2 separate regions of the Homo sapiens genome follow, and region 2 is linked to region 1. Evidence: promoter capture Hi-C in 16 types of primary human blood cells and fetal thymus (Javierre and others, 2016). All regions are on one chromosome and are shown on one strand. Each heading gives the region's core, a stretch centred on a gene start or on the middle of the fragment in contact. The rest is flanking DNA. Distances are from core to core; before and after follow the strand shown. Region 1 holds the start of UQCC3 (ubiquinol-cytochrome c reductase complex assembly factor 3). Region 2 holds the start of BAD (BCL2 associated agonist of cell death).

The links. Contacts are between HindIII fragments. The CHiCAGO score rates a contact against its expected background, and 5 or more counts as called.
Region 2: a contact is called between the fragment with the promoter of BAD here and the fragment with the promoter of UQCC3 in region 1, in 1 of 17 cell types (activated CD4 T cells). The highest score is 5.8, in activated CD4 T cells.

What each region holds. Positions count from the first base shown.
Region 1 is chr11:62,670,406-62,673,503 of GRCh38, reverse strand. It overlaps UQCC3 (ubiquinol-cytochrome c reductase complex assembly factor 3), which reads right to left and starts at 1,831. Exons shown (of 2, transcript NM_001085372.3): 1 at 1,639-1,831; 2 at 1-1,551. The coding sequence starts at 1,758. The coding sequence ends at 1,390. LBHD1 (LBH domain containing 1) reads left to right here and starts at 1,237. Exons shown (of 7, transcript NM_024099.5): 1 at 1,237-1,940. RefSeq lists a silencer at 1,028-1,157 and enhancers at 1,398-1,557, 924-1,665, 1,666-2,405, 2,406-3,098. The HindIII fragment of the contact is 2,853 bases long and covers 173-3,025 here.
Region 2 is chr11:64,283,027-64,286,147 of GRCh38, reverse strand. BAD (BCL2 associated agonist of cell death) reads left to right here and starts at 1,483. Exons shown (of 4, transcript NM_032989.3): 1 at 1,483-1,517; 2 at 1,772-1,966. The coding sequence starts at 1,780. GPR137 (G protein-coupled receptor 137) reads right to left here and starts at 300. Exons shown (of 7, transcript NM_001170880.2): 1 at 1-300. RefSeq lists silencers at 224-963, 1,314-1,603. The HindIII fragment of the contact is 5,985 bases long and covers 948-3,121 here.

The DNA.
Region 1 (3,098 bases), core at 582-3,081:
AGATCCAGAGATTGGGGACCACTTTACATTTCTAAATTAATGTTTTACAATAATCCTCGTAGTTATGACCTTTCATAGAACAGGGCTGAGGTTTGTAACATGCTGGAGTTCAACCAGGATCTGTGACTCAAAGCACACTCCTTTTACTACTAGTAAGTCAGCCTCCTAAGCTTGTTTAACCAGAGGTTAAATAATGGCCACAGAAAGCATTGTGGCATATGTTAAGTGCTAGATGCCCCTCCAATCTCGCTCCAAGGACAGGAGTCCTGAGTGTCCACTATAGGCATCCATTACTTCAAGACTTCCCAGGATAGTTCAGATTTCAAGAATGTCCCACGGTTATCCCTGGAAGTACACTCCAACCTGACACCACATGACCTGTTTTGAAAATGTGGTTGGCCGGGCGCAGTGGCTCACGCCTCTAATCCCAGCACTTTGGGAGGCTGAGACGGGTGAACTGCCTGAGGTCAGGAGTTCGAGATCAGCCTGGCCACATGGTGAAACCCGCCTCTACTAAAACTACTAATATCAGCCGGGCGTGGTTGCGGACGCCTGTAATCCCAGCTACATGGGAGGCTGAGTAAGGAGAACAGCTTGAACCCAGGAGGCAGAGGTTGCAGTGAGCCAAGATTGCGCCACTGCACTCCTGCCTGGGTGACAAGAGCAAGACTCCATCTCAAAAAAAAGAAAAAATGTGGCCGCGGCAGGGCGAGGTGGTTCACGCCTGTAATCCCAGCCCTTTGGGAGGCCGAGGCGGGCGGATCACCTGGGTCTGGAGTTCGAGACCAGTCTAGCCAACATGGTGAACCCTGTCTCAACTAAAAACACAAAAGTTAGCTGGGCTTGGTGGCGCGCACTTGTGATCCCGGCTACTCGGGAAGCTGAGGCAGGAGAATTGCTGGAACCCAGGGGCGGAGGTTGCAGTGAGCCGAGATCGTGCCACTGCACTCCAGCCTGGGTGACATTGACTCCGTCTCAAAAAAAAAAAAAAAAAAAAAATGTGGTCAGATACCTATCGGGATCAGCCTCTTCTGGTGGGGTGGGACAGGCAGCAGCTCCAGGCCGCGCCCCCAGCACCGACCACGCGTCTCTAAGCATTGGTAGGTGTCGACTGCAGGGCTCATTCTGGGTGGAGGAACATGATTTTATTGGTTCTTTCAGTTCACCACATCCGACTCGCGTCTCGGCCCTGGCCCGCCTTGCGGACCTTAAAGCAGTCAGTCCAGGGTTTGGGGGAAACGTGCTCACCCGACGGCAGCTCACAGGACCCCGGAGAGTCCTGGCATGGTATCTCGGTCCGGACTCTCCGCTGGGCCCACGAAGGAGAAAGGCTGCCTCGGATTCCTGCGCCCAAGCCAAGGTCCGGCGCCCACGGAGGCAAGTCCGGTCTCACGGTGACCTCCCGCCGGCGCCGCCTTCGCCGCCAACCATCCAGTTCTTCCTCCAGGCCACGTTCTCCTGCGTGGTCGCTGCCTCCTGCAGAGTGGCCAGCAATAGCTGCTGGGTCCTGGCCGCCTCCTCCCTGCTCCTTGGGTCCTGCAGTGGCATCTCCTGAGGGCAGGAAGGGGAGTTCGCAGGAGCTCCAGTCCGGGGCTCTCCACCCGCCCACCCTTCCTCGGGACTACCAGTTGCTTCTACCTTTAGCATTTCCTGCTTCCGCCGCTCTCCCGGGGTCACGATAACGAGGAGCGCGTAGCCCACGCCAGCCCCTGCGCCCAGCATTGCGACTGAGATCAGCATTTTCCGCAAGGAATCCATGGCCGCCTGCACAGCCAGCGGAGCGCCCACGGGAGCTCCCCGCAGCCGCAAGCTGTTGCCGCGCGGTCTCACTACCCCTTGGCGCAGGCTAGAGCGCCCTATAGCAGAAACCATAGATAAGCGGCCGGCTAGAGAGGACCTGCTCGAGGAAACGTTTGGAATCCGGAGCGCTTGGATCTCAGGTTTAGCTGAGGGGGTTGAGGTGTCCAAGAAGTGCTGGCACCAAGGGCTGAGCGCGGGGACCCTGTGTCCTCAATTCCGGGGTGGGATTGCTAGGGGGAGAGTGCGTGTCTTCATGGTTGCCGTGGGTTTTATGATTGCCCATTTTTCTGTCTTCCGACGTTTCCCGATCAGTAGAGGCCCGAGCTGTGCTCTGTGGTTTCCTGCAGTCACCCGCGCGTTTTCAACACAGCGCATGGAGGGCATCTACACACATACACATCCCTCTCCATCCCCTCAACTCTGGAACAAACACTCAAAGTCAAGTATACTGGTTGGAGAAATGGGTAATAGTTACTTATCTTTAACATTTATTTTACAAACAACCTATTCCTTTTCTCGTCATGGTACACACTTGGTATTGTTTGGGTTTTTTTTTGGTTTTGTTGTTGTTGTTAGTGTGTGGGCGTGGTTTTGTTTGTTTTTGGAGACAAGGTCTCGCTCTGTCGCCCAGGGCTGGAGTGCAGTGGCGCGATCATGGCTCACTGAAGCCTCGACTTCCAGGGCCCAAGCGATCCTCCTGCCTCAACCTCCCGGATAGCTGGGATTACAGGCGTGCACCACCACGCCCGGCTGGTATTGCTTTTTGTTTTGCTTCGTTTTCTTTTTTGCTTTTTGAGACAGAGTCTCACTCTGTTGCCCAGCTGGAGTGCAGTGGCGTGATCTCGGCTCACTGCAAGCTCTGCCTCCCGGGTTCACGCCATTCTCCTGCCTCAGCCTCCCGAGTAGCTGGGACTACAGGCGCCCGCCACCACGGCCGGCTAATTTTTTGTATTTTTAGTAGAGAAAGAGTTTCACTATGTAGGTCAGGCTGGTCTCGAACTCCTGACCTCGTGATCCGCCCAATCCGCCCACCTCGGCCTCCCAAAGTGCTGGGATTACAGGTGTGAGCCACCGCGCCCGGCTGTTTTGCTTTGTTTTCAACCACTAAAAGGCTGGATTCGTGTAACATACTGAATTCTGCTTTACAGAAGAAAACACCTCTTAGCTGTGTGACTGATTATAGGCAAGTTCTTGTGCCCCGGTTTCTGCATCAGAAAATGAAGCTTATAACAACAGTACTTGTCTCACAGTTTTAGGATAATTAAATTAGTTATATGTAAAGCAATTAAAACAGCTCC
Region 2 (3,121 bases), core at 234-2,733, 1.6 Mb before region 1:
AGCCGGCTGATACCCGTCGGGTCAGGGCAGCGGCCGCTGCGAGGGGCGCCCAATGCCCCGCTCTCCCCCTCCCCAAGCTGGGGGAGGCTCTCTCTCCTCCAATAATGCGGATGGGGAGGGCCTCTGCCTCCTGTCCTCGTAATTCTCGAAAGCTGCCCCCGCCCCACCCTCCCCCACCGCGTCCACGCTCCAGCCTCAAGGGGAGGGAGGAGGCGGACGCCAGGTCCTCAGGCCGCTGATGGGAGAGCCGGCTCAGGTCGTGGGGACCCGGGGCTCCGGCTCCCCGGCTCCCGCTGCTCCGCCCCCCTCCCCCTCCGCGCCTGCGCGGGCGCCGTTCGCTACGCAAATTGCGCAGCGGCCCGGCTGGCTCCGCAGTCCAGCGCCGCACCCGGCGTGAAACCGTACGAGAATTGGCGCGAGCTGCGCCGCTGGCGGGCGCCCGGGGTTACGGGAGGCGGCAGGAGGGCGGCCGAGTTGCGGGGGCCGTGCCGCATCCAGGGGGTCCCCGGGTGGGCCGTGCCCCGTGCCGCCCGCCTTTACTTGTATGGGGGTCCGCCAGTTCCCACGCTCCTCTCTCCTATACCCAAATCGGGGTCGTGCCGCCCGGCCGGGGGCGGCAACGGATTCCCGTCCCTCGGTCTCTGAAGAAAACTTCCGCCCATAGCCAAGATGGCCCCCGGGCCCCGCCCCCGGGCCTGAACCCGCGGAGCCCCGAATCCCCCGCGCGGGCCCGCCCCTCGCCCCGGCGCGCCCGCGGCCCTGCTCACCTGGCCGGCCGCCTGCCAGGCGTGAAGCCCCCACGGGCCCTACGGTCCTCCCTCACCGGGTCCCCGGCCCTCCTCCCGCGCCCGGGCAGCCATCCCAGCCAGGGAGGAGGTTCCTTTCCTTATCTCCAGTGCCCCCGAGATGGCGCGGGAGGTGTCCCCCGAGGCGGGCGGCGCGAAGCTTCCGCGCCTGGGAGGAGGAGCGGGGAGCGGGACTTTCCGACCGGGCACCCAGTCCAGGCGGAGCGGTAACAATAGCAACAATAATCACATCCGACGGCTGAGCTTCAGTTGTGGCTGTGCCAAGCGCCTTCGCCCGCAGTAATCACTCCCTTCACAAAGTTTTCACTGGCTCCCGGGGGAGCTGTCACTATCCCCACTTCACTGGGGGGAAACTAAGGCCCAGAGGGGCTGAAGGACTTGTTGGCAGAAGTGGGTCTCCAGGTTCCAAATGGGGACCCCAGAGAATCCCTCTCCTGCTCCCACACACGCCCAAGGTGTGAGGCAGCGAGGATGTGAGCCCCGGGGCCGAAGGAGGGAGGAAAAAGGATGCGGACGAGGAGCCTTGGATCCGGCGGGGGGGCGGGGCCGGGCCGGGTTGACCCCGCCTCTGGACCTACCCGAGTGACGTTCCGAGAGGTGATTGGGCCAGGTCGCTGACAGTTCCCGTTGCCCAAGCAACTAGGGCCCGGAGCCCGGGGTGCTGGAGGGAGGCGGCAGGCCCGGGTCAGGGGCCTCGAGATCGGGCTTGGGGTGAGACCTGTGCGCCGTCACCACGGGCGGGGCGGGGCCTGGGTCCACCGGGGTTCTGAGGGGAGACTGAGGTCCTGAGCCGACAGCCTCAGCTCCCTGCCAGGCCAGACCCGGCAGACAGATGAGGGCCCAGGAGGCCTGGCGGGCCTGGGGGCGCTACGGTGGGAGAGGAAGCCAGGGGTACCTGCCTCTGCCTTCCAGGGCCACCGTTGGCCCCAGCTGTGCCTTGACTACGTAACATCTTGTCCTCACAGCCCAGAGCATGTTCCAGATCCCAGAGTTTGAGCCGAGTGAGCAGGAAGACTCCAGCTCTGCAGAGAGGGGCCTGGGCCCCAGCCCCGCAGGGGACGGGCCCTCAGGCTCCGGCAAGCATCATCGCCAGGCCCCAGGCCTCCTGTGGGACGCCAGTCACCAGCAGGAGCAGCCAACCAGCAGCAGCCATCATGGAGGTAAGTACCCCACCACCTCCACCTGCCGGGACACCTCACCCCCAGCCCACTGGCTCCCTGCATCCCAGTTGCATCCACAGGCACTGAATGCTTTGGGTCGGTCCCCAAACTCTCAGAGCCCCAGTTTCCTCTTTCGTAAAACAGCAATTAATAACCACCATTGTAGGACTGTTGAGTTAATTAGCAGGAACATATAGGATGCACTTGATTACAGAGCTGGTGCACATTAAAGCTAAAAAATGGTTGCTGCCGGGCGTGGTGGCTCACACCTGTAATCTCAGCACTTTGGGAGGCCAAGGCAGGAGGATCGCTTGAGCCCAGAAGTTCAAGGCCAGCCTGAGTGACTTAGGGAGACTCCAGCTCTTAAAATACATATATATATATATAGCAGCTATTAGTGTGGGGTTAGGACAGAAATCAGTGACAGGCAGGCAGTGATCCGAAAAGGAAAAGGGGCCTGCCTAAGGCCACACCTTCCTGGTGTTTCTTTCCTTAGAATGTGGGGGCTGGAAGCCTCCTTGGTGCCCTGCCCCAGGCTACATGCTTTCCCTGGGATTAGGCCTTCCAGCTCCCAGATGTGTTCTTTCTTGCCCTGTGGCTCGTACCCACAGCAGGACTGTCCTGGCACAGTGGCCAGGGGCAGATGACCTCAAGGGGCAGACAGTCCTCCCAGACAGCAGGGCTGTGTGGGGTGAGAAGCACAGGCTCCAAGATGGAAGGATGGACACTGGGGTTCTATGTCCATTTCTCAGTAGGCTCTAGCACCCCTGTGCCCAGCACTGGCCTTGGCACCTGGAACAACAACAGATATCTTCTGAACACAAAAACCAGGTCAAGCTGGGTGGGGTGGCACATGTCTGTAGTCCCAGCAACTCAGGAGGCTGGCTTGAGCCCAGGAATTCAAGACCAGCCTGGGCAACATAGCCAGACCCCATCTCTAAAAATAGAAAACTAGGTCATGTCACTCTGGCACTGCAGCTTAAAAGACCTCCTCCCCATTTTCAGGATTAAGAAGGCTTAAGAGGCCTCTTTCCCCTCGCTCTCTTACGGATAAACACCCACACTCGATTCTCTCAGATTGGACCCCATAGCTTGCTTTCTTTTTTTCTGTTTGTTTTGTTTTGTTTTGAGACAGGGTCTCGCTCTATCACCCAG